Regions from separate parts of the Homo sapiens genome. Here regions 1, 3, 4 and 5 are each linked to region 2. Evidence: promoter capture Hi-C in 16 types of primary human blood cells and fetal thymus (Javierre and others, 2016). All regions are on one chromosome and are shown on one strand. The core of a region is centred on a gene start or on the middle of the fragment in contact, and the rest is flanking DNA. Distances in the headings are between cores, read along the strand shown. Region 1 overlaps PRKCE (protein kinase C epsilon). Region 2 holds the start of PRKCE-AS1 (PRKCE antisense RNA 1). Region 3 overlaps PRKCE (protein kinase C epsilon). Region 4 overlaps PRKCE (protein kinase C epsilon). Region 5 overlaps PRKCE (protein kinase C epsilon).

Region 1 (2,789 bases), core at 83-2,582, 230 kb before region 2:
ACTGGGGCCCCATCCAGCCTGGTCCCTGCAGGGGATTATGGGGAGACACTGCATTTCTCTCCTACTGTGTTCTCTGGGCCCACACTCACAATGCAGCTCCTTAAAGAAGGGCGGCAGGAGAAGCCCATGAAACACTGTCCCAGCCAAGCGCAGGGTGTGACCCATCTCTGAAGATGTTCTGAGTATCAAACAGAAGTTCCCATCAGTGCTGGCCCCAGGCCTCTGCAGGGTAGGCACATACAGCAGGCACCTCAGAAGCTGCCGGCACATTGATGCCCAGAGCTGCCGCCTGATGGAGGGTGGGCCAGCAGCAACAGATCAAGACCTTGGTTCCTGCTGCCTCCCACACAGAGCACATGAGTAGAGGGGAGCATCACCCTGTCAAGGCAGAGATAGCTTCCCCCAACCTAACCCAGCAGAGGTAAGATCAAAGGACGGCCCTGGAATCCCATCAGACAGGCCCATGCTCAAAACCAGAGGAAAGGTGTTTGGGGAGACACTGGAAACCCGTCCCCCTCTTCCCTGCCCTTGAATTAGAGCCATGCATAGCACCACAGGTAGAAAGGACTTGTCTTGGTTTAACTGTGGGTGTTCCGTTTTTGCTTTAGTAAATGTACAACTTTAAGTCTTCAGAGTACCTCACAGCAATTCTGCAGCTGAAGATCCACAGGGGTTTAATTAACCCAATTGCCTTTGACTTCCTGCCTCCAGAAACCTGTTCTCTGCACCTTGGCAATGTCTTGCCCCAAGCAGAGCTGCCTATGCCCTGTGAGCAGTGCAGCCTCCTGGACTCAGCACCAGCACACCAGCGGTGATCCAAATGACCAGAAGATGCCCAGTAGGCCAGGTGGTTGAGATTCTTCACCTAGGTCTTAGCAATCAGCTAGCGGCTTTCCCTCCCTAGCTCCAGCAATGTGTCAGGCAGAGTTGCGGGGAGCAGGAAAGCCGCTGCATCTGGGTCTACCAAGTTAGGATAATTCATGTTAGATTCCAGCATGCTATCATGATACCAACCCACGCTCCATACCCGGGTCATGTGGGTAGGGGAGGAGGGTTGAAAGCGCATCACCGCTGAAGATAGCCTGCCCACCCCGGCCCTTCATGTGGGCAGACACCATACCCCGCACAAGCACATCCTTCCTCCCAGGGAACCTCTTGGAGTAAAGACCTTCAAGGAAATTATTCCCACTGTGGGAGCCACATCTCACCCAATTTGTAACTGAGTACAGAGTTGAGTAAGCAGTTCAGGTCAACACGTGTGTTCAGGGACTATAAAGAGCATGGGCCGGTCTCCATTTACCCTTCAGTAAACATCCTATCTTTGTAGATCACAGTTGCAGTGTTCCACCACCTGGCATCCACCCTCCCAGCATCAGAGGTTCCCCAGCTAGGGCCCCGGCCAGCCCTCAGCCCCTTAGAAAGGACTTGCAGGGCCAGGATACACAGAGCCCGGTGAAAGCCCTGCTTTGCCCAGCTTTTAGGAAAGCTCACAGGGCTCCAATGTGCTTAAGCTGTGTTTTACCAGATGGCAGGGTGTTTTTTACCTGATTATTAAAGCCATAGTCTACTATGGCCCATCAACAGCCAATTTGGCCTCAGCAAAATAGATTTCAGCTCTCTCAGCACTAGTCTCCTAGCAATCAGCTCATCAATATGTATAATGTTTAGAAGCTGGATATTGATTGTGGAATCTAATGGACTCATTCAGGGTTCACCTTGACCTCTGAGTTACTTTTTTTTTGGAGCTTCCCTGTTTTCCCACTACCAGATTCCAAAACTGGGTTAGCGTGGGCTATGTTGGAGAGCCAGCCAAGAGGTTCCTGAGGCTTGGCCATAAGTCAAGGATGCTCTTGAGCCAGGGTTTGCCCTAGCCAGTGTGAGATGGCCTGGACTACGGCCTGCCCCAGCATTACTCTGAATTAACAAGGAGCTGCTGTTGCCATAGGATACAGCAAGCACCAGTGGTGTGATTAACACCGTAGCATCCAGTGAGTCCTGTGTGTCACCGTGCCTGCTGAAGTGATGTGGAGCCCCTGTCGCTGTCTGTACAATGGTCAACAAAGGCTACCAGCTCTCCATGGTCCACGCCCGGGACCTCACACGTGGACCCCCAGCTCCCCAGGTTCCCCTGACTCCTCCCCCAGGGCTCACCAACACATTCACAGCACATAGGCTCACCCAGCCCCCCTCTCATGGGTCCCTGCCATCAGGAGAATGTCCCATGCAGGGCTGGAGAAAAGGCAGGCTTCTGGGGCAGCGGGGAGACAGCAAGAGTCTTGGGAAAGAGGAGCGCATCTGGGACAGGTGGCCCAGGCAACCGGGGGAGACGGTTTCCAGAAAGGGATTAGTTTGATTCTTTTTCTTCCTGGTGAGATCCCCGAGCACAGCCCACTTACAGTAAGCCCTGGCCAGTTAGTAATCATCAACGCACATGGAGCTAAGACATTTCGCTTCTTGGCAGGGGAAGAAATGCCCAGAGCCCAACCCACCGAGCACGCCTCTGCCTTCTCAAAAGGCTCATCTCATCCAGAGCCAGCACAGAGACATGACTTTTTAAACCATTGTTTCATTTTCACATGTGATATAAGTCTGTGTTCTCCATTACAAATACCAAAAGTGAGAGGTGGTACTGTTAAGAAACCTCATCTTCTCCCCCTGTGATTTGCCCTGGATGGGCACGTGCCACCCCCATAGTGTTCAGCACAGGCAGGGAACTTGGAGTTCTTTTGGTTTCAAGACTTCTCGGTTCGCACGCAACCGGCTTCTTTCTAAGAAACTGTTTTGTCTGT
Region 2 (2,827 bases), core at 96-2,595:
CAAGACCTAGCTTGATGGCAGGGGCTCCCTAATGATTTATTAAATGAATGATCTAGAAACTATGAAGAAAAGAGGAAAGAATGGAGACACTTGATACCTCCTTCCTTCCCCAACCAGCAGTGACTGACCACAGAAGGATGGGCCTGCATGGCCTTTACTCGCTCCCTCCTTAGAACCTGAGCTGAGCCTTCTATTACTCTCTTCATTATCACAACCTTTCATCACAATGGGGCAATATGTATGTCCAGTCAAGAATGAAACAGGCAATGGTGTTTGTACGGACTGGGCTACTTCCATGTATGGATCAGAGTTTATATCCCAATAGAACCATCTTCCTCTCTATCCATACTCTAGTCTTATAAACTTAGTTTTCCTGTTAATGCAAAAATATAATCCTTATTGACGTCATTCTGACCTGCATGTATTAAGAGAGGAAAAGGCTCTGTATCCTTTAAGAAATTATTAAAATGTTTTAAATTGTTTTGTTGCACTGGTTTCAGTTTAAAAGATCTCTTTTGCACAGCAACACTTCAATCACTAGAATACTTGCATTATGAGGCAAATAGTTACAAGAAACAGGCTGCTGGGGGAACAAGCACAGGTGAGCAATGGAAGGTCAACAGAGCCAAACACGCGGCAGAGAAGCAACAGAGGGTTCCATCTTGAGACTGGGAAACTTACCACTGATAATGACCATGTAATGACACCCCCAGTGAAGCTATCCTGAGGCTCCCTGTACTTCACAAGGCCAAGAAAATCCCGTCACGCCAATGGTAAACAACTTCTCAAAACAAACAAACAAAAAAACAAGTCAAGCATTGGTGTCTACTAGGCCATGATTTTAGAGCCAATGTAGAAAACATTGTAGGAGCTACTGCCAGGTACCGGTGCTGCTTGAATAAAAGCGTGGAGTGGAGGCAGCAACTATTGAAAAAGGGGAGTAAAATGCTGAGACGCTTCCACAGCCAAAGTTCACCCCTCCCCACCCACCTATCCTGCCAGCTGGAGGCTTCCTGGTGGAAGGCCACCTCTCACCAAAGTCAGGCCCATCTGTGAGCTGAGGGCCAGCTCCCCGGAGACCCCTGGGAATTCTGAGCAGTGCCAGATGACAAGCAGAGGCCTGAACTCTTCTGGCATGACCTTGGGCCCAGTACCTCCCCGCCTCCCCTCCTCCCACCTACAGTGATTAAAGATAACCCAGCCAAGCAGCCTGGCATGTTGAAAAGGAGCAGGGCTGGAGGGAAATGAGGAGGACCAAACCGGGAAATGCACCACTGAATTTCCTCAAACCACATGGACCTTAAAACTCGTCAGACCGGTTTAAAATTAGCCAATACCCAGGAGAATAATTCATTAAATGCAACTGTTATGATTCATTTAGAATTCACTCCAATTCTGAAATGATAAATGACAGTGCATTTATGTATAAATGACAGTGTATTCATCTCCCCAAAGCTGGTCACAAGTGCCCTCACTGCTCTGGAGTAAAACATGGGCTAGAAACAAGGAAGCAAAGACTTAAAAACAGCATCATGTTTATTCACTGGAGAAAAAGGTGAGCTGAGAAGAGCTGAAGGCCTGGGCTAAGGTGCTAAGGGGCACGCTGGGTCTTCCTGGTCTGGGGAAACGTTTTCTGGAAAGGAGACGGCTTAATGTACATCTACAGAGTGTTTTCTTGTGCTATTTTGTTTTGTAACTTACAGGGGATTTTTCTCTTTATAATTGATGAGGTCCAGTCTCCAAGATCTGCCTGCTGTCTTCCTGGTCAGCCAGGCTTGGAAACTCTCACCTCATCCCTTCCTTTCCTTCTCTGACATTTAATCAGCATTGAATTAAAATTAGGCATATGGATCACCCAAGGCAAATGGAAATTAAGATACTGGATTTATAACATGCATAATCCAAACACAGAAAATCTTGCTACCAAAAATAATCATGTCTCTCATCCATTTCCCAGACAAACAGTTCAACTGCCTGCTTCACTTTGCCTTCAAGTTTATCAAGATGAGGCCGAGAATTCTCATAAACTCCTCAAGGACACCAAAAGGAGTTCCTGTAGACTCACTCAGAGTCCTTTCCCTCCTCTCCCTCAAGCAGTGCCCACCTCTTTTCAGGAAGCATCTTCTCTTTTCCATTTGACTTTCATAAAGAAGCTGGAGTTTTATTTTTCCTTGGCCTCCAATCTGTGCTTTGGGCTGTGCCATAAAATTCCTCAGTAATTTATGACCTGTTTTTCCTTTAAAGTGGAGAAGCACTAATCCCTCACAGAGTGGGGAGACAAGCATTTCCAAAGTGAGGTAATCTAGAAATATATGCACTGACCACAGTGAGTTGGGCCCTGACTTACAATTGAAGGCTCATGTAAAGATCCCTAGCCCTTGACACAGAGTATGATCTCAGAAATAGCCTGGTCTCCAGTTAGTACCTGGTTTGACAGAGTCCTCTTGACCCAAAAGTCCATCTTTTCCTGTCACTGATATCTGAAAATTCCAGACATTGCCATGTCACCCTCCAGATAAAGGAAGGCCTCCTCCACAGCACTCTTCTAAAGCACCAGTCTTATATATCTCATTACGGCCATCTACCTCAGTGTAAATGAGTTTATACTCAGCCAAGAGGAAGTGAGGAATCCTGGCTGGGCCCCAGGCTTGGAGGGGCTCAGAAGTGGAAGGAGCGTGCACAAAACCTGAAATCAGTCTTTGACTCCTTCACATTTTCGCCGCAAGTCAACCCCAATGATCACGCTTACATCTTTGCAAGTAGCTTTTAAAAAATATTTTCCAATAAACACAAGGAAATGAAATATTGAGATACACCTTCAAAAGAG
Region 3 (2,700 bases), core at 164-2,663, 250 kb before region 2:
CAATAGCCAGATACTCTTCCTCGGCCCTGGGCTCATCAAAGATAAGTCTATGTACATTGGGGTCCTCCAGTACCACCCAGGCCCCCCCACCCTCTCCTGCCTCCGTGAGTGAAGGCTACAGTCACTTAGGAAGGCATACATCTACACGAAGCCTTGGGTATCTCAAAGACTATTTGAAATCACTGTGGAAAAGTTCTTCTAGAGCTAAGGAAAAATAAAGATGTATTTTTTTTTCTCAGCACACATCAGCTGCTAGCAATTATGTGTTTATCTATTTAATGGGAAAACAAATATTCAAATCCACTGCAGGAGAGAGTATCAGCCTCTATGCGAGAGATTTTACTTCCTGCTGATTTACAGTTCTGGAGATGAAATCCTCCCTTTCTCTAATGCTCCTTAGCCTGGGCTGCAGAATCAAATAATATGCCAGGCTGCATAATCTCTGGATCAGCAGTACAGACTGGCCCAGAGGTTTGGTCCTGGGGCACGGTAGGCAGTTATGGCCCTTGGACTCAGGCAGACCTGGATGCCTGTGGCTTTACTATGAGACCTGGAGGGAGGTACCTCTTCTGTTTATACATCAGTTATCAGCTGCAAAAATGGAGATAATACCTGCTTCATAGGAAGATTGCAATGATTAAATTAGATGATATACATAAAAGTGCTTAGCACAGAGCCTGGCACATTGAGGCATGTCAATGAATACTCGTCTCCTTCCCTTCTCTAGGTTCCAATACCACAAAAATCCAACTACATTTGTTAATTCACAAATTATATCTTTACAATTTCACCTCCCTCTTCTCTGACAACACCCCCCCCATGCACACTCACACATGGACTATACACATTCTATACTTCTTACCATCCTGTGTCCCGTGCACACTCATGCATGCACATATACACATTCTATACTTCTCACCATCCTTGTCCCATGCACGCTCACATGTGCACATATGCACATTCTATAATTCTCACCATCCTGTGTCCCATGCACACTCACACGTTCATGTATACACATTCTATAGTGCTCACCATCCTGTGTCCCATGCACGCTCACACATGCACATATACAGGTTCTATACTTCTCACCATTCTGTGTCCTATCCACACTCACACATGTTCATATACACATTCTATACTTCTCACCATCCTGTGTCTTGTGCACACTCACACATGCACACACCACACATTCTATACTTCTACTATCCTGTGTCCTACTTTTCAGCCCAAACCTCTAAGCTCAAATTCTATTTCCAGAAATCGTTTTTGGTGCCTCTGGCCCACAGGAGCCCCTCTGTCTGAATGCTTCTAGCCACGGCTGTCCATGTCACAAAATGTTCGTTAATAAGAAACACAGTAATTTAGTAATGACCAAAACAAAAAAAGAAAGCACTGGCTTACAAATCCTTCTCAGCCTCCGACTTTCAACTGGAGAGAATACTCTGCCTACCTCACAGTTTTGCTTTAGGATCAAATAAGATGACCTGTATGGAAGAGCTATGTAATATGCCAGTACTACGTTAAGGGCAACATCCCCTCCTCTTTATCACCACTATCACCGCCATTACCACCACCACCATAACAAAAGATCCTGAGGATGGGGGGGACTCACCTAACTCACTGATTTCACCAGCTCCTCCTCGACTTGCTGTGTAATGGAAACCTACTTGTGAAAGGCTTTTATTTGAAGACAGTGGTTATGTATGGCAGTTGCCCTGAAACAAAGCACTGATTCCCCCCTCTGCCCATATTCCTCTTGCCATGGCCCTGGAGAAAGGAAAATTCAAAATTAGCCAGCCAAGTTCCCTTGCATATCATTGCAGGCCTCAGCAGTCAGCCGCTGAGCAGCAGGCCGAAAATTCATGCTTGCCAACTTTGTCATTTCTCAACATTTGAGTTATTTATACTTCACAAGTCTGTGAGATGCAAGTCCCCCATTTCCTGGGATGTAGAAAAAAACTGGCACAATATTCTAGAAATTCCCAAGCCAAAGTGGGTGGCACTGAGGCTTCGAATATTCAGCCCCACTGAATTCTCCCAACCTGATTCTACCCACTGAAGTTAGCCTTGCCTCCCCCACCGAATCGCACCCTCAGGTTATCCCTGGCCTGGGCCAGGAATGACTACCCCAATATTTTATCTGCTTATGCAAAACCTTTGAGTCCTAGCTCAAGTCCCACTGTTGCTGGAAGCCTGCCAGAGTTTGCCCAGCCCACGATGATTGAAAGCAGCCTTCTGTCATCAACATCACAGGTCTTAGAAGAGTCCTAATAGAAGTCAGCTCAGTCTAGGTGATCCTTGGCCAGCTTGTGAGCTCCCCGAGCTTATGCTCTAGAATTCTCCCTTGGGTTCACTACTCGGATGGATGTATCCTAGGTACACAGTAAATGTTTACTGATGCTAATTGATGATTAAAATGCAGCATGCTTGGCCGGGCGCGGTGGTTCACGCCTGTAATCCTAGCACTTTGGGAGGCCGAGGCGGGTGGATCACCTGAGGTCAGGAGTTCGAGACCACCCTGGCCAACATGGTGAAACCCCATCTCCACTAAAGATACAAAAGTTAGCTGGGCGTGGTGGTGGTGCCTGTAATCCCAGCTACTCGGGAGGCTGAGGCAGGAGAATCGCTTGAATCTGGGAGGTGGAGTTTGCAGGGAGCCAAGATCATGCCATCGCAATCCATCCTGGGTGACAAGAGCAA
Region 4 (2,700 bases), core at 61-2,560, 180 kb before region 2:
CCACTATTTTCAATATCAGGAAACACACAAACTTGAATGTTTGGAAAGTAGGTATGACCATCGGCAGCTGACTTGCCCTACTTAGCTGGGTAGAAGGGCAGAGCTAATGAAAGCACTCTGTCTGGGGAGATGACCAAGTTTGGGACAAGTACCAGCGGAGGCTAAATGCCGGAAAATGCTGCCATCAGAAACGCCACAGTGGGATTGTCTGTCCAGCGAGGTGCAGGCAGGGCTGGCAGGTGGAGGCAAGTGGTTCCTGGAGTTACTGCTCTGAGGGGGTCTTGCCTCACCCATTTTGCGGGAGCCCAGGCCACCTGGCCCACCTGCCTCTCCATGGCAGGAGCACTCAGTCCTCGGTGACAGGCATAGCCCGAGGGAATCCTAAATTTCAACATAGCCCTTTATACATTAGAGGTGTCTATCAAGCAATAAATGAACGGAGAGCATTCTTTGTGGAGTTCCCTGCCATTAGACGTGGTCTGTGGATTCAGTGAGTCACTCCTCTCTGGCAGGGTTTGCTGGAGCCTCTTGTAGCCTCTGGCCATGGGCAAGTCACTCTGTGAATGGGAATGGTCACATTTCTATATAATTCAATTTTTTTTCACAATTTCTAAGTAATAAAAAAATTAATAGCTCATGCACATACATGGGAAAGAAAAACAAAATAATAAGCTTGACAAGAAATGTCTCATCCTTTCCAAATTTTCCCTTTCCTTTCCCCAGAGACAGCCACTGTTCTCAATCTGCTGTGTATCCTTGCATAGACAACCTGCAAACACACACACATACCCCTCCCAAACACACACAAGCATATCCACTTGAATGTAAGCCCCATGAGGGCAGGAATTTCTGTTTCTATTATTCACTTCTGTGCCCCCAGTTCTGAGAAGAGTAACTAGCATACAGAAAGTGCCTAACAGCCATAGGTTGAATGAGTCAATGTATACATCACATGTCTTCCTGAAAAGTTCAAATTGTGGTCAATCAAATACTAGTCCCTCTTTATTTTATCTCCTGTTCAAATGAATCTTCAGTGGGCCGTGGCACTATTTCCTCAACCAAGGAAAGAGGATAACTGTTGGTACCTGCATTTCAGGGTTGCCATGTGGATCAGTGATCACGTGGAAGTGTTTGTGGCTGTCATTTACTGACTGCCTACTCACAGCAGAGCCTGCAAACAGAAGGGAGGCTCCTTGGTGGTCCCACAGCACCCTGCCCTACCAGTAGCTACCCAACAGCTAAAGCACACGATGATGCTTACTGGTCTATTGCTTGCCTCCTTCTAGCAGAGCATGAGCTTCCTGACAGCAGGCACTGTGTTCATTAGCTCTACATCCCCAGGGCCTCGTATATATTAGATAAGCAAATAAATGATGCTTCCAACTGAAGAAATGGAGGATGAGGGGGAGACAGAATAGGTGATTCAGAGACACTCATTCTCACCTGTGTGCACTTGGGCACATGTACACCCCTACACTGGCCCCTATGAGCTCACACCAAAGGTTTAAATAAAGGAGGAAGATAAAAGCCCCAGTGTCAACAGCTCGATTAAAAATGGTGAATGCACTTGCTTGTGAAAACATGCATGTTTCAACAAAGCTAGGTAATAAGGAAAATCAATAAAACTGTTAGCACTGGCCATTTTCAACTGGATAAAAGAATAAAGTAATAGGTCCTGAAAGACAGACAACTCTAAATTAGGTTAAATGAATGGAAATACCCTTTCTTTTAAGCCAAATCATGAAGACATCAACAACAATAAATGATTAAATTAGAACCCATTTTGGGCCAGTATGATCTCAGCTGCAAACAGGAATTTCCAGAAACAATCTTCTTTATAGGACACAGAAATGATACACAGCAAGACAACGGAGATAGAACTAGAGGTCATGTGGGACCCACTTCTTGACCAAGGATCTATTAGAAATCCACCTTTCCAATAAGCTTATTTCTTCACTGTAACTATTCTTCCTTCAATTATTTTATTGGTAAGACAGGCACACCAGTCAAAAGGAAATATATATCTACGCTCCTGTAATGGCAGAGGGGAAGGAGGCTCTAGTTGTGATCAAAAGAGCTCTGCTCTCCAAACACTCAAGATTCAGTTCTGTTTCTCATCTGCTAATGGTTGGCATTTGGCGTTGTTAACCATGGGTGATTCATTTCAGAGGCACTGCTGTGCATCTAGAGGCTATTTGGAAGGAAATGAGGGTTTCTTGGCTTATGTCTCATCAAGCATCTTAGCGATGTCTCTTTGTGACATTATAAACTCCTTGATGGGGGCTTGGTGCTCACTGTTTTCCAGCTGATCCCCTTGGTCTCATCTGGTGCATATAGTCACTTCTGGGAACAAGAATTTATTCCATCAGGACCAAAAATAGAGCCAAAAATCCCAAGACACAGAGGCTTGCTCCCTGGGTCTGAGAATCAGCCACAGGAAGAAGTTATGCCGGGGTGGGGTGTGGTAACGTGGGGTGCATATTGTAAGATCAATGTTGTTGAACATCTGGATTTTGTTATTTTGTTGTTTTCTGGGCTCCGTGCACTGCCAGGGGATTTGACATGTCCATGCATGTCTAGGGAGTCTGTGTGGTGAACAGGATCAGGATCTTATTGCGTAAGGCACAACATGTGAGGGAGCCTGATCAGCACCTTGGAGCTGGTGTCTGGCTTTGAGGTCCCCTGTTTGGGAAGCTGGAG
Region 5 (2,717 bases), core at 107-2,606, 210 kb before region 2:
AACACCATCTGCTTCTATAACAGAGCAACCCAAATGCTATGTGGTCTACAGATAATTAGTATTTTGTTGTAATTTCTAATTATGATCACAGGTTACCTCTTTGGGGGTATCTCAGGATAAGTCTCAGGCCATCTGAATTCCTGAGAGAACCCCACACGGGCTGGTTTTGCTGGTCAAGGTCTCCCCACTTTTGATTCTCCTTGAAGGGCAGAGCACCATCTGTACTTGAGGAAATCTTATCATCTTGACAGTAAACATTCCTGATGGAGGCTATTGAAAAGGTTAACTCCCTGGAAATCAGACAAGCCTTTTCTCCACAGTACTCCCTGGCTTGCTCTTTGGAAGAGTATTTCTGGCCAGGTGCGATGGCTCACACTTATGATCCCAGCACTTTGGGAGGCCAAAGCGGGTGGATCACCAGAGGCCAGGAGTTCGAAACCAGCCTGGCCAACATGGTGAAACCCCCATCTCTACTGAAATTACAAAAATTAGCTAGGCATGGTGGCAGGCACCTGTAATTCCAGCTACTGGGGAGGCTGAGGCAGGAGAATTGCTTGAACCCAGGAGATCGCGCCATTGCAGTCCAGCCTGGGTGACAAGAATGAAACTCCAGCTCAAAAAAAAAAAAAAAAAAAAAAAAGACTGTTGGGAAATACTACTTCTGCATTTTTTAAAGATGAGGCATGAGGCTTTCCAGTGGCCAAATGTTTGGGGAACCCTTGTATGCTGTATCCACATCTAGAGATTCACAACAAACATTAGCATAGTAAAGGCTTGGCAATTAAGACAGCTTCTTAACATATTGTTTCCCCAAATAATACACAGTGAGACTAGAGTTCTCCAGAACTCCTTGGGCTGTTGCAACTACAGCTTAACAAGTTTCAAAGGAGCTAAGCAGGAGCTAGAGGACAAACCCAGCGCCTTTTGCCACTTTTAATTCTTTGCCATCTGTTATATCTGGGATCATCCACACACACATTCCCCAAAATATTCACAACGATTCCATGTTCTGGCTATAACCTCAGTTCTGTTTTCATCTGCTGACTCTGGAAATCTAGGTCCATTTCTAATGATCACAGATCATGGGAGATAACAGTGGATTGGCTTCCAGCATACATTCTATCCTTCTAGTGTGCCCACCTCTCCTATGTGGGCAGAGGATGGGAAGCTAAAGCCAACTCTCAAAGTCCCTGCAGCTGCAGTTCCAGATATGATTTCAGTTGGGCCAGTTAGATGTGCTTTTGTGAAATTTAGAACGCCAAAGTGAGGCAGAGACCACATTTTGGCAGTAGCTGCCATTTGCTCAGCAAGCAAAGTCCAAGAGGCACCTGGTTCTTCTATGACAGTTTTAGCCAATGTTGCAGCATCCAGGTACCAACTTTGTGGGTTCCAGGAGGCAGGACCAGGACATCATTTGCAGATGCTGATCATAGCTGATGTGGCATGGTTCTAGAACCATAAAAGTCATGGCTTCCTGATTGTGGGACCCTCTCAATCATGGCTGTTGCAATGTGGTTCTGGAGAAGTGGCTTCATCTGTAGGAGTGGCAACAGCTTTCTTGGTGGTCTAGTTCTGTAGTGTGGTTCCGGGGTACTTATTCCTGAAACCGCCACCTAGAGACCTTTGTCTTCAGAACTCTTCATAGTTCTATAAGCCATTTAATTCCTTATAATAAATCCCTTCCTCTTGTTTGCTGTGATATATTCTGCTTTCTACAACTGAACCTCGACCTACACCCTAACTCAATCTGTGTTCCAGCAAGGATGATCTAGCTTCTCAGTTTCATCTTGATGGCTGTGGAATTTCAGACACAGATCGCTATCTATTGTCCATCTAGGTAGGAAGCCTTCTGCACGGTTGACTGTGGCCAAAATGCTGAGAGTATAACCTGCAAAGCTGACTTTCTGCAACCAAGCATGTATCCTGGGTCAGGCCCAATGGGAGGCCCTGCCTATCAAGCAGGAACGAGGCTAAAACTTCTGGAGGAGCAACTCTGTTATAAGCCATTACAGATAGACACCATGTAAAAACCCAGGCATCAGAGTTTACAAGAAGGAGCAATACTCCTGGGTTCTAATTCCAGGCCATATTACTTAAACTCTGAGCTTCTGACCCCGTTCTGCCACGTGAGGCTAGTGACATCGTCCACCTCACACAAAGATAGGAAAGAACTTGAGAGTAGACCCGAAAGGTCTTTGGAAAAAACTATTCTAGTGAAGAATGACATTTATTACTACTACTATCATTACTAGCATTCAAGAATCATAATCAAGAAAAGAGGGACCTTTTCCCACACTTTTAAAGGCACTTTCTAAGTCTTTAATACTCATAACTTTTCAGCACATTGGCATTTAAAGAAAAAGGTTTACGAGCTTCATAAAAAATCAGCACTCGAAGTGCAATGCTTCCTTTAGATTATAGCCAAGCATTAGAAAGGTTTGAAAAAGTCATTTGACTTCAGCATTGTCAAGACTCATTGCAGGGTTACTGTTATCACGTCAGCTGTATTTTTGTGCTATTCTCCAAGATGGCTGGACTATTTCCTGTGCCCATGTAGTTAGGTAGTTCTGGGTTTTTACTGTTGCTGTTTATGTTTAAGCAAGCCTGTTGCTTCACTTTTTAATGCAATAGAAGTCAGCATGGCAGGTTTGTTTTACTGCTAGCATTAAAATGCCAAGTCCCCTCTAAGCAAATCCTCTTCACACAATCTCATAGTG

What was found. Contacts are between HindIII fragments. The CHiCAGO score rates a contact against its expected background, and 5 or more counts as called.
Region 1: a contact is called between a fragment that was not itself captured here and the fragment with the promoter of PRKCE-AS1 in region 2, in 1 of 17 cell types (naive B cells). The highest score is 5.2, in naive B cells.
Region 3: a contact is called between a fragment that was not itself captured here and the fragment with the promoter of PRKCE-AS1 in region 2, in 1 of 17 cell types (naive B cells). The highest score is 5.3, in naive B cells.
Region 4: a fragment that was not itself captured here is called in contact with the fragment with the promoter of PRKCE-AS1 in region 2 in 1 of 17 cell types (total B cells); the score reaches 5.8 in total B cells.
Region 5: a fragment that was not itself captured here is called in contact with the fragment with the promoter of PRKCE-AS1 in region 2 in 2 of 17 cell types (total B cells and naive B cells); the score reaches 7.3 in total B cells.

Annotation. Positions count from the first base shown.
Region 1 is chr2:45,904,252-45,907,040 of GRCh38, reverse strand. The region is part of intron 2 of PRKCE (protein kinase C epsilon); the gene reads right to left. Among named protein-coding and RNA genes, the nearest start is that of PRKCE-AS1, 230 kb to the right of the region's middle. RefSeq lists an enhancer at 2,378-2,447. The HindIII fragment of the contact is 2,994 bases long and covers 1-2,789 here.
Region 2 is chr2:45,674,038-45,676,864 of GRCh38, reverse strand. It overlaps PRKCE-AS1 (PRKCE antisense RNA 1), which reads left to right and starts at 1,345. Exons shown (of 2, transcript XR_940049.3): 1 at 1,345-1,555; 2 at 1,958-2,827. The region is part of intron 1 of PRKCE (protein kinase C epsilon); the gene reads right to left. The HindIII fragment of the contact is 8,353 bases long and covers 1-2,827 here.
Region 3 is chr2:45,925,325-45,928,024 of GRCh38, reverse strand. The region is part of intron 2 of PRKCE (protein kinase C epsilon); the gene reads right to left. Among named protein-coding and RNA genes, the nearest start is that of PRKCE-AS1, 250 kb to the right of the region's middle. The HindIII fragment of the contact is 2,982 bases long and covers 1-2,700 here.
Region 4 is chr2:45,849,545-45,852,244 of GRCh38, reverse strand. The region is part of intron 2 of PRKCE (protein kinase C epsilon); the gene reads right to left. Among named protein-coding and RNA genes, the nearest start is that of PRKCE-AS1, 180 kb to the right of the region's middle. The HindIII fragment of the contact is 1,272 bases long and covers 675-1,946 here.
Region 5 is chr2:45,886,389-45,889,105 of GRCh38, reverse strand. All of the region lies in intron 2 of PRKCE (protein kinase C epsilon), which reads right to left. Among named protein-coding and RNA genes, the nearest start is that of PRKCE-AS1, 210 kb to the right of the region's middle. The HindIII fragment of the contact is 4,842 bases long and covers 1-2,717 here.